3 separate regions of the Homo sapiens genome follow, and regions 1 and 2 are each linked to region 3. Evidence: promoter capture Hi-C in 16 types of primary human blood cells and fetal thymus (Javierre and others, 2016). All regions are on one chromosome and are shown on one strand. Each heading gives the region's core, a stretch centred on a gene start or on the middle of the fragment in contact. The rest is flanking DNA. Distances are from core to core; before and after follow the strand shown. Region 1 overlaps DAP (death associated protein). Region 2 overlaps MARCHF6 (membrane associated ring-CH-type finger 6). Region 3 holds the start of ANKRD33B (ankyrin repeat domain 33B).

Evidence for each region. Contacts are between HindIII fragments. The CHiCAGO score rates a contact against its expected background, and 5 or more counts as called.
Region 1: a fragment that was not itself captured here is called in contact with the fragment with the promoter of ANKRD33B in region 3 in 2 of 17 cell types (neutrophils and total B cells); the score reaches 6.7 in neutrophils.
Region 2: a fragment that was not itself captured here is called in contact with the fragment with the promoter of ANKRD33B in region 3 in 5 of 17 cell types (neutrophils, total B cells, naive B cells and 2 more); the score reaches 20.7 in neutrophils.

What each region holds. Positions count from the first base shown.
Region 1 is chr5:10,701,493-10,705,564 of GRCh38, forward strand. All of the region lies in intron 2 of DAP (death associated protein), which reads right to left. Among named protein-coding and RNA genes, the nearest start is that of DAP-DT, 58 kb to the right of the region's middle. RefSeq lists an enhancer at 1,395-2,117. The HindIII fragment of the contact is 844 bases long and covers 1,128-1,971 here.
Region 2 is chr5:10,420,704-10,424,748 of GRCh38, forward strand. It overlaps MARCHF6 (membrane associated ring-CH-type finger 6), which reads left to right. Exons shown (of 26, transcript NM_005885.4): 23 at 3,032-3,121. Among named protein-coding and RNA genes, the nearest start is that of ROPN1L-AS1, 19 kb to the right of the region's middle. RefSeq lists an enhancer at 129-1,328. The HindIII fragment of the contact is 1,717 bases long and covers 1,868-3,584 here.
Region 3 is chr5:10,562,054-10,566,044 of GRCh38, forward strand. It overlaps ANKRD33B (ankyrin repeat domain 33B), which reads left to right and starts at 2,017. Exons shown (of 4, transcript NM_001164440.2): 1 at 2,017-2,780. The coding sequence starts at 2,415. RefSeq lists silencers at 1,601-2,460, 2,801-2,850, 3,821-3,870 and enhancers at 2,080-2,974, 2,975-3,868, 2,991-3,200, 3,521-3,570, 3,591-3,680 and 1 more. The HindIII fragment of the contact is 7,834 bases long and covers 1-3,991 here.

The DNA.
Region 1 (4,072 bases), core at 300-2,799, 140 kb after region 3:
CATACTGTGCATTGTAGTTTCCAATAATGATTGCAATGTCAGATGACATTGTATTTGTCTTCTATCAGTTTCTTAAAATAAATAAATAAATAAAAAGGTTGAGGGGGACGGGGGGCGGGGGGGCAGTGGGTGGTGCAACCAATCCCCTGCCATCTCGTCTCTGACCAGTAGAGGGAGAATGAACTTCATTCAGGGCAGCAAATTAGGCCTCAAGTTATCCCTAGGATGATGGTTATGTCCCTGATTCCCTGGGACGGTCTGGGTTCAGGCATTGGTCCTGGTGTTATTACTAGCAGTGCTTTCTTTCACTCTCAAAGCATGTCAGACTAAATATGCTGCATGGTCACTCCAAGCTGAGACACAGAATTCTGGTATGATCCTCAACTTTTCCGGGACACTTAAGTTTCATTTTTCATGGAAGAAATGCTCGGATTGCCTGTGCTTGGTTCCACCTTGATACTTGAGCCAGCTGATAAACAGCAACTTCAAGGCTGGCTCATGTTCTCTTTCCATCACTTTCCTTCCCCTCCAAGGGCAGGACTTATACTTTCCCAGCTGTGTTGCCATAAGAACTTCCCAACATGGCTTTAGGCTTATCACAACACAGCTTTAGGCTTCTGCACGCATGGCTCCCCTTCAAGGTCAAGGACCATGGTGGAATTTGTTGTGTGCCCAGCGCCTGGCACATGGTCTGGTGCGCACACATACTCAACAAATGCTTTGAGCACCAAATGACATCACCGGTCAGCGACCCTCAGCTTAGCACAAGTTTGTGGTCGTGGCCAGGCAGTGAATGAACCAGGGTGCTTAGCTGGAACTGTTTGTTGCTCATTTCTTAGGAATGAGTAACTCTCATGCCCTGCCCGCCTCAAAGGCTTGCAAAAGAGGCAAAAGAGCGATTAGAGATAGTGGATTTATTTTTGTGACCCGACAATCTGGCTGAGCTGGATCTGCTGGCCATGGGTTGATATCTGGAGTCCCCAAGCAAATGGGCCCTTCCTCCAGCTTTTGCCAGACTGACCTGGAAGATTGGCTTTTCTCCCTCTTTAGAGGGAGCTCAGGCTAACAGGTACTTCTTCAGATCTTTTCAAGGCAAACTTGAGAATGGTGATAGAGCCATGAGCTGAAGCTTAAATGATAAGCACAATTAGCTAGAGGCGGTAAGGAAAAGAGGGATGGGGTGTTATCAATGACCACATTCACGAGCCTGAATTAACGAATTCAACAGGAAAAACTCCATCTACCTTCTTTATGGCAACTCCTGGCAGCTGCCAACAACAGCTGGATGGCTTTGCAGGACTCTTGCCTAAACCAGAGAAAGACTAAGCATCAAAGGTAGCTCATCTTGTTAAGAAAGCATGTCTTTTTAATAAAGTGCGATGTCACTCATGACCAAAAAAACCCTTGCAAAAGGGACAGTAACATGCAGACAGATGTGCACCCTTACCCTGAGCATAAACGATCTGGCATGCCTTGCCTCCTCAGCCAGAGTCTCAAATGCCTGAAGAATCTGGGTCTTAAGTTTTCAACTTTCGTCTCCTTACCTAAGGCTACTCCACAATTTCTGGGTTTAGTCATCTGCAAGTGAATGCTGGGAAACAGCCTGTTTCTGTTGATTCCCCTTATCACCAAGCACCTAGGAGCAGGGCTCTGTGAGGAATGACTCACTCTGGGCAGTAGGACACATCTTACAAAGCAGGGGTGCTCCCAAAATAGGGAGCTTACTTGTTGGGACACAGTAAGATGTTTTTCCCTTTAGAAACAATATGAATGATGCTTAGGTTCCTAAACTGTCTCAGAAGACACGTAATCCAAGTGTAGGCTGTGAAATGCTAGTGTGCTGAGTTGGGGCTGAGAGCTGGGCCTGGCTGGCTGTGGGCTTCTACAGAGTAGTTGCAGCCCTGTGCACAGGCAGGGGGGGTGTCACCGACTCGCATGTGGGCAGGTCTTTGCTGCGCATCAGGTGCTTTAAGCTTCGGAACAACTGTGCAGGATTCTATTTTAGTATTCTGGAAGCATCATTGAGGAAGTAGTCCAGTGAAGTTAGCTCTAAAAAAACTCTTTACTCTAACAATTAAAAGAAATATGCCAAAGGATCCATAAGGGATGAATAAATTATTAAACTATTAAGAAGTTGCTATAAATATGCAGTGTTAATTCAATAATTCATAACGGACTGGTACAACAAGATTTTTTAAGGCTCATAAAATACTGCTGGCTTTGGCAGTAGCTAGTGTCCTGGGGCTCATGCCAATTGCTTCTTTACACAGCAGCCTGGGTGTGGGGGGCACAGGGAGCCTTCCCCTGGCTGGCTGCCCAAGGACTCCAGGTAGAGGACAGCGCAGGGCGTGGCTGTGGGGATGTGCCTTCACTGCCTCTCCAGCCTTGCTGGGGGCCAGGCACTGGCTTGTCTCTATGGCTTCACAAAAAATACAGCAGCGGTGAAGAGGGGGAGAATTCACAGCACCATGCTGTGGCAGAAAGCAGCATCCCGAGGGCTGGGCAACCTCTTGCCTGAACCTGGGAACAGGGCGTCCTGCCTGTCAAATACCAGCCAGCCTGGTGACCTTCATCTCCACAGGTGCCTTTGTACCCCAGAGTTTCCTTTATAGTCCCTGATCTCTTTTACCTGGAGCCCTTGGGGCTACATAGGTTTCAGAATTCAGGATTTTTCAAGTTTTATAAAGGCAATATGTTATAAAAATCATATATAGTGAACAGTTCTGGAGGGGCTTGGGCAGCACCCCATATTCAAACCCATTAATTTTTCTACAGCAAAATGTATGGATATTACACTAAGTAGGATTTAGGGACCATAAATATCCTCACATCAGCTCAATTTTTGCCACCATGAGTTTCAGTGTGAAAACATAAAGCCCTCTGCAGTTTTCTGAGTGCTCTGGAATGTGTATTTGCCTTGGAGACATGGGCACTTTCCGCTCACCACTTCCTATGTGTCTCTGTGCTGTCGCCCAGTCTGCTGCCAAGAAAGGGAAATGGATTAGAAACAGGTAAGACGGTAAAACTGTCAGGAGGTAAAAAGATTACTCCTGGATTACATGGAGATGCCATGGTCAGCTCTATACACTTATCTGTATAGAGTAAAATTGGATTCATTCAATTAAGTGAAACCCTTGGCAAAGCAGAATAGAACAAATGTAATCAGGGAATTTTCCCCAAATTGTATCTTGGTCTTTTCTGGGTTAATAGAACTGAGCACCAACACCTGTCTTCTGTTTGTGTGGCCTTTCACTGATTCTAGAGCCCGTTGCCTGTGATCCCTCAGTCTTTCCTGCGCAGTGTACAGGGCCAGGAGCCCACAAGCATCACTGACCTCCTTTTCATACAGGTGAGAAAGCAGCTTAGAGGTAGACAGTCCCTGTGGTCGAGGGAATGGGAGGAAGTGGAGCCAGGACAAGCACGTGGGTCCTCAAACTTTCTGGCTAGCTCTGGTCTTCCTACACCTGTCGGATGCACAACCTCAGAATTGTGGCCCAAAATACATTCTGCCTGGCTCTCATCCTGCAATGCAATTTGAGTAGCCTGTGGTCAACTAAATTCTGGAAACACTACTTCCTGTATCCTCCTCTGAGAGACTGAAATGCCCCTTAGTGTAATGGGGCTCTGAGTCATCTTAAGGAAACCAGATTAACTTCCTTTCACCCATTTCCTGATGCGTTTGAATCAGGAAGCCTTTTGGGCAGAACTTCCATTAGCATCAGCCCACCGCGGCCCACACTACACACGGTCGTGACACATGTATTAAAGGCTGAGTTGCAATTGTGTTCCATATTTTATGTAGAGGTGAAGGTGGTTTACACATTTTGGAAAGAGTTTTACCTCGGAGGCTAAATAGGGGTCACAGTGATCTAGTGGGAGGCCCAGGCTAGGGAATCCATTTCTCCATCCTCCTTTTCTCCACCACTGGGTCACGTGCTGTTTGGTCACTGGAAGGACAAGTCTGTGTGGCAGAAGCCTGGGCTCTCTCCACTGCTGTGTGAGAACAAGGCTGTGCATTTGGCCCCAGCCTTTCAGCTGCCTTGTCATTTGTGATGAAACAGAAGCAGTTCCA
Region 2 (4,045 bases), core at 1,476-3,975, 140 kb before region 3:
CTCTGCAATCATGTCTGAACACAGACAGAACAGGAGCATTATTCAAACCACAGAAATGACCAAACATTCCCCTTTACTGGCTAACATGATTGGTTACTGCCTCATTACCAATTACAGTTTTAGCTTCTGCCACTTTTTCTAGATAAGATTTATTTATTAAGATAACCATTCACAGATTACTCTGCTTTCTAATAGCATCTGATACAGACCAAATTCCTGCTTCTTAAATCCTCCCCCAAATCCCTAACATAAGCTGAAATCCTGTAATAACCCCTTTCTAGCACTCTTACTGAGGGGCCCCAAGTTCTCCATGATGTGTTACTCCCTTGCTGCAATGAGTAATAAATGCAACTTGTTCTAGTTATACTTGTATTTTTGGTGGTCTTTACAGTACTCAGCATTACTTCTGAAATCATCATCACCTTAGAGAATTCTTTGGTACTATCAAAGTTTAAAAATGCTTATATATTATGACTCAGCAGTTTGGCTTTTCAGAATCTACTGTGAGGCATGAGCAAGGCTGTTTCTGCAAATACATCATTTTTTATAGCAAAAAATGAGAAGTGATCTAGATGTCCACCAATAGAGAATGCCCAAATAAAATGTGGAATATCAATGCAGCAATTGAAAAAATGAAGTAGAGATATTTGTTTTGATATCGATAGCTCCCAGACGTGTTTCTGAGTTGGGGGAAAGCACAAGCTGTAGACAGATAATGTGCAGCGTGCTATCCTTAATGTTTTGCATTAAACCCCCAAGTTTTTGAAGGAACAGTTTGCTTTTTCTTAATTCATGACTTTAAGCTACTTGCCTTTCCTGCAGCAAGTGGCTGCAGCTCCGTGGGATAGTGGGCCAGTTGGAATTCTAGCAGAGCAGCTAGTGTGGTGTGTCCTGTCTGGCAGGAGAGGACTGCAAAGCAGTGGGTTTTTGGAGAACGCGAATCACAGTGATCTTGGACCTCCTTGGGTAAACATTAATCTCATTTGGGTGTCTGCTGGACTCCCAGAAGGCCAAGAGAAAGCTGAATTGGTGGGTTGTTGCATCTTCCCTGCCTGTGAGAAAAAGCAGGGAGGCTTTCTTCATGTTCCTCAGTAGGAGACTGTTGGAGGGCTATCCCAAAGGTCTGAAGACGTAAAAGATCCTTTTGAAGCCCTTTAGGATATTCTCAGCCAGGCCCAAGCCTCCTTGAGGCTGCAGAGGAAATTATAACAAGTGCTTTATATGCAGGAGGCTTAGCAGCCGCAGAAAGGAAGTTAAGGCAGAGCAGTCAGAACACATGCCAGTTTGACAGCACTGCTTGCAGAGCCATGAGCTTCCAGAGAGAAGAGGAAATACACGGACGCCGAGTGCAGTATGTTCACACGCACATACAAACAGCAGCTCTAAAGCAGAACGCAGTTGTTGTGGAGCTGTATGACATAGATTTCAGACAAATCTAGTAGTGAAAAAAGATGTGGACAGTCACCACTGGGCTTGGCTTGGAGGCTTGGAAGATGAATGCAAAGCACTGGGCAAAACGGAAGAGGAAATTGAGAAAGAGAAATGTTTTGGAGGAAACATCTAGGAGACTTAGCGTACTGATAACGGGGGTTCCAGAAGGAACAAATGTGAGGCAGCATTGATACAAAAACAGGAGAAAATTTAACTGAATTGAAGAAAGATCTGATTCTGTAGTTTGAAGGGGCTCATGAGATTTGGTAAGATTGAGATCCAAGATAAAAACACGTAATTGGGTATATCTTATTAGACACGGGGAAATCAAAACAAGCTTCAAAAAACTGCATTGTCATTGGACTTTTTTTCTGTAGCACTGAAAACCATAAGATCAGAGAATTTATAGACGACTGGGTAAAAGGGACAAAAGCCAAGCTTCCTCTACCCAGACAAAAAATCATTTAGCTGTTCACCTATCAGGGTGAAGATTGATATTTGAGGGTATTCAAGAATTCAGTGTATGTATCAACCTCTCACCCCATTTGAAGAAGATCCTTAGAATAACCAATCAAACCAGTAAAGAAATGGGAACATTGGCCTCAAGATGGTAGACAGTGAAGAGGAGAATTAACAATCTGAGCAAAGTCCATATGAAAATGATACTACATACTTTCTATGGGATATAGATGTATAGATGCAGCTGAATGCATGGGGAAAAACATGGATGGTATGTACCAAAAGCTAATAGTGGTTATTGCTGGGGAGGGATCAGGATTTAAGGTAGTGATCACAGAGGACTCCCGTCTTTTCTGTAAAGATTTTGGTTTTATGTAAGAATCAGTCTAAATGTTACATGTGGTTTCTTTTTTTTTTTTTAATACCGTTTTTTGTTGTTGTTGTTTTAAATAAGCTAGATAGAGACCAGGTTATAAAGGGTTTTGTGTGCCTTGCTAAGGACTTCAGGGTTGTTAAGCAGGGAAGTTACGTTCATGATCTGATTTGCATTTAAAGAGATACTTGGTGGTGGTGGGGAAGGGGGCTGTGGGGAGGGAGGAAGTAGTCATCACTCTGTCTGGTGGAGAGCTGGAGGGTGGGCAGGCCAAGAGTCCGTTGCACCATGAGGAGGAACCTAGTAACAGTTCCCCAGTAGAACCACAAATGCTTCAAGCTAGAAGCTATCTGTGAGCCTTTAGAATGGTTTCTTAGGCCAAACTTTGCTCCACAGTCTTAATTTGACATAAATCAGCTCACTTGAAACCAATGAAATAGCCTAAAGATAGTTTGAAATAAAATCTTGGCATTTATTTTATTTGCTTTTTGAGATATCCATTAATGACCAGACTTTCTCTAACTCTTGGGAAAACAATATAGATTTTTAAAAGATAGAAGAACAATTTTTGATGGAAACATTGAATTTGAGCTGTTGAAGAAAAAAAATTCTCTGGGTTTTCAGTACGTTAGTCTTTTGTAAAATTGTTGCCAATCCTATAGAACTTCTATTTTGATGTGAAATAATGTAAGAAAATTATACAGCCTCTCTGCTGTGTTTATTGTTAAAAAACAACAGAAATATGTTAAATGGTTTTTAATTCCCTAGGACTGGGCACTTGGAGTCCTGCATGCCAAAATCATTGCAGCTATAACATTGATGGGTCCTCAGTGGTGGTTGAAAACTGTAATTGAACAGGTAAGCAAAATCAGTTTTCAGAGAAAGACATTCTGGAATTGGTTGTGTTTATGTTTGGCAGCTATAACTCTTATTTCTTATCTTCCTACCTTGCTGAGTTTTCTACATTTTTTTTGATGGGCATATATAACCTTTTTTTTTTTTTTTAAAGACAGCAGTTTAGTTTTACCACTGTAGGGGAGGAAAATAATTTGTTCTCAACCCTTGTTTTTTTTAGTTAAAATGGAACCCTTTAATAAAAGACAACAGAAAAACAAAAGTTTATTAAAGTACATATTTCATATATACATGGAGATACCCAGGGAATGAGTAATTTCAAAGAGGTGGCTTTGAATTCCAACGAATCTTCAACAAAGAATAATAAATTTTTAGAGAAGTGACAAGATGAAGGAAAAGGACTTTGAGTCTCTAGGGGTGGCAAGTGAGGGGAAGCAAAAAATTGGCAGATGCGGCTCCTTAGTAAAGCTTGGCAGTGTTGATTCCTCTGGTGCCATCTAGAGGCCCAGAAAGGCCCAAAGCTCTCTTCAGTGGGTAATCTTTGTCCTTCATGGTGTAGGGAAGTGGGGTGGGCTACCTTTTGTCTTTATACATTTATATTCTGCTTCTAGGCAATAGAGGGAGGACGGAAAGTTTTCCTGCATCTATTCTTTCTCAGTTGCATTCAACTCAAAACAATCCTTATGCCTAAGAGGCATATTTTTAGGGTGGCATATTGTGGTTTTCTATACTCCCATGAATTTTCATCAACCACGTTTAAGCCATCCTTTATCTGAAGGTTAACCAGTAGCTTACGGTATCTAGAACCCTGTTCATAGTGGAGACAAAAATGAAAATACGTGCTTTTTTTCTGGTGAAGGTTGATATTAATGTTTCTAAGCCTGTAGTAGATTTGGAGTGGGGGAAAGGTTATTGCTCGAGGTAATA
Region 3 (3,991 bases), core at 767-3,266:
CTTCCAGAAATGTCCAGACTCTACTGTCTTTGTTGTAAAAGAAGCATATTTTATTTTTTATTTATTGTTTCTTCTTAGCGGTTTATTTTTAAAAGACAGGAAAATGATCAGCTTGCATCCTGAATCGGACCACTTACTTATAAACGATAGTTCTTCTTTGAAGCAGACGATGACATTTTAGTTTATATTTAAGGGGAAACACATTCAAATGCTATTTGGACTCAAATTTCTAAGGAAGAAAAGGAAGTGGTAAACTCTGAAGATAGAACCTCAATTCCCTTGCTGAGTGACGCGGTCAATGAGCACCAATCGCCTACGGGAGGCCAGAAAAGGCTGCGTGGTGCTCCCCTCTCAGGGCCTGGCCCTGTCCACCTGGGCCTTGGTGACCCGCAGCCGGGACTCTTGCTGTAAAGTGACGCAGTGCTCTCCCTGGGAGGACAGTGGGTCCAGCAAACCCAACTCAGCCCTCAGGGGGCACTTGAAATTGTAACTACCCCAGGCCTTTGGAAACAACCCTCAACCTTGAAAGGGGAAATTCCCAGTGGGAATTGATGCAAACTGTGGTCAGTTACACAAAAAGGTAGAGTTTACTGTAATCTGGGGGCTATTTTTGGTTGCAGAAAGAATCCCCGGAGTAGAGAAGGAGGCCAGCGAGTCTCAGTTCGCTGCTCGCTCAGAGCCGCCCAGGTGCGAGGGCGTCTTCACCAGAAATCGGTGCTCCCGCGCGCCCCACCCTCCGGGGCCCTGCAGATGCCGGGTCGGGGGCCGCCAGCAGGCCCTTTGGCTCCTGCTGGAGACACTGGAAGACCAGGCGACCAGGACAGCGGGTCGGGCCAGTGCGGTGTGACACGAGGGCTCGAGCGGCTTCGCAGTTTAAACGTGTCCTCATCCTACACCTCCCACGGCTGTTTCGGATTCGGTGCCCTCGTGCCCCTCAGCTTGCCCAGCGGCACGTGGGCCTCAAGCCTGGTCCCCAGCGGCTGCGCCAGCCTAGCTGTGTTCACCTTGGGGCCGCGAGGGCCTCCCACCGGCTGGCAGCTGGTGGACACGCTGTCAAGATCGGGGGAAAAAAAGGAAGGAAGGAGGCTAGGGGGACACAGGGCTGGTGGCCTCCGCAGTCTTTGACCTGCGACGGGCGCGAGCGCACCTCCGCGCCTTTGCGCAGAGACCTTCCCCCAAGATTGGCTCACGACGCCTCCTACCCCGAAGTCAAGGGCTCCCTGTGGCAAATCCTCACACGCCCTCCTCCTCCCCGCCCATCCCCGGCGCCAGGACTGACGGGGAGAGGGCAAGGCCGGGCCAGAGGGGCTGTGGGCCTGGACTGCGGCTGTCGCCCGCGGCCCTGCTCTTTTGGGCAGCCAGACGTGGGGTCAGCGCCCAGTCGCAGCCTCCGGGGGTGAGTCCGCAGATCCCCGCACGTGACACAGGCCAGGCATGGGGACGGGGAGTTCCTCGTCGTCCGTTCCCACTCAGATGCTCCCTGAGGTTCCGGAACACCCCGCCCCCCATCCCAGGATCTGACCAACCCTCAAGCCACGGCCGGCCCCGGTTCCGCGAGACGGGGGACTCTGAGGATTGTCCTCCCTTCCGGGCTGGGACTCCCCCACAGCAGCCGACCGCCCCCAGTTCAGAGTGGCCCGGCCCGCAGCGCTCCCCGGGCACAGGTCCCAGGTGGACGGCTCCGCTCCCGCGCCCGGCTCCTCTGCCCGCCAAGCGCCCCGGGGATTCCCCGGCCTCCAAGCGGCCGCGGCCGGGTGGAGTCAGCCCCGAAGCCCGGGATCCCCCGAAGGGAGAAAACCCGCTCTGCTCCTCTGAAGCGGCGGGAGAAACCGGCCCCACCCAGGTCCGGGGGCCCGACGCCCTCGGCGGAGGCCGGCTCCAGGGGTCCGAGGTTCCCGAAGCTGGAGGCCGGCTCCGCCCCGGCGTCCCCCCGCCGCCACCTCCGCCCCCATCCCGCGGGCCGGCGGAGGGAGGGGCGGGGCCGCTTGCCGCCCGCGACTCGGGTTCGGCTTCTTTAGTGATTGCTTCTGCTTCTCCCGCGCCAGCTGTCCCCAGCTCTGGGGCAACGCTGCCAGGTGCCCAGTCCCCGCGCTCGAGAGAGCGCCTGCCTGGCTCTGAACTCTGGCCAGGAAGGGGCGCGAGGGGAAGGCCCCGGGGGAAGGCGTGTCCCCGCGCCCCGCCCCGCCCCGCCTCGGAAAGCCCCCGCGGTCCCGCCCACCCCAGGGGCTCGCTCAGCCTCCGGAGACTTTTTTCTTTGAGCGCAGCCGCCTGGTGCCGGTTTCCGCCGAGCTGGAGCGCGCGGGCCACGGCTTCTCTGGGGACGCAGAAGCGAGAAGCGGGGACCTCGGCGCGCGCCCCGCGTCCCGCTCTTCCTGCCCGCGCCCCGGCCCCCGGCCCGCGCCCCGGCCGCCGGCATGGTGCTGCTGGCCGGGACCGGGCCGGAGGGCGGCGGGGCGCGCTGCATGACCCCACCACCGCCGTCCCCACCCCGGGGCGCGCAGGTCGAGGAGGACCCCGCTGACTACGAAGAGTTTGAGGACTTCTCGAGTCTGCCAGACACCCGCAGCATCGCCTCGGACGACTCTTTCTACCCTTTCGAGGACGAGGAGGAGCACGGCGTCGAGAGCGCGGAGAGCGTCCCGGAGGGCGTCCCGGAAAGCGTCCCGGAGACGGCGACCCTCCTGCGCGCCGCCTGCGCCAACAACGTGGGGCTGCTGCGGACGCTGGTGCGGCGCGGGGTGAGCGTCGAGGAGGCGCAGGAGACTGACCGCAACGGCAGGGTAAGCGGGCGTCCCCGCAGGATTTGAGCCCCCTCACTGCCCCCACTCCCCTCCTCCCCACCACATCCCCGCGCCTCCCAGCTCCTGGCTCCGGACCGGTCCCTCGGTCACTCAGCCGCCGCCCAGAGCGCCTTTTCCCCGCTGTTTGGGAGCGCGGTGCCCTGGGTGGCTTCCCCGTCTCAGGCTGGGGGACGCGGTGCGGGGAGGGAGCAGTCGAGGTGTCAGCGCGGCAGAAACGCCAGTCCGGCGTCCTCACCGCATCCCCTTCTCGTTTACCGGTCCCCGTGGACCTCCTGACTGAATTCGCGCTGGCTGCCCGTGCTGCAATCCAGGATGGGCTTCTTGCGGCCCGGTCCCCTCCTGACTATTACCTTTCCCCAGGTCCCTGGCAGGGGACCATTCCTCCTCCCCTGCAGGAGACAGCCCCTCCTGCCCAGCGCCCCATTTGGCCCCTGGGCCCCTCGCGCCGCCCTTGTCCTAACACGCTGGGGCGCAGATCGGCTCCTCCAGCCGCAATGATTTGGAAGCAACAGTTTCTTCCCTCGCCGGGACAGCTTGGTCCCCTACCCCACCTCCGCTGAGCTTTGTGGCCCGCGCCGCGACCAGCCAACGTGATCTCTGACTGGTCTGTCCGCAGGTCACCTTCGCGAGCCAATGCCAGCCGGGGCTCCCCAGAGTCAGGGCATAGGGAGAGCCCCAGAGCCGCGGGCATCCACCCGGGTAGGGCAGGAGGCGTGGAGGCAGGCACAGGCTATCCTTTCGTTATGACCAGATTCAGAGAAAACGAGATGTTTAGAAAAGAAAAGAAAAGAAAGGAAAAGAAAAAAAGTTGGCTTAAGAAGACCTGAGAAGGACTGGCTGGTGGAACACCTTCCACCAAGCAAAGCACTTCAAGGGAAAACTGCAGAGTGACCACGGTGGCCAAGTTCCCCGTAGTCTGTGCTCAGTGGGCAAATGGCAGCGTTCTCACCTGATTTTTGTATTGTCCAAGGACCGTGGTATCTGCAGATGCAGCCTAGCACAAATGCACATGCTTTTTGCTCAGGAGCCTGCAGCTGACAGAAAACATGTGCTTTGACTTGGGGACCCGGGTGACCTTGTGCCTTTGGTTTATCCTGCAGTGGGTGGGGCAAGTGGTTTGCCCTGACTGTGGTTTGGGCTGGGCTTAGGTGGATGGGAAGCCCTCCAATGTCACTCTCCCCTTGTACTAC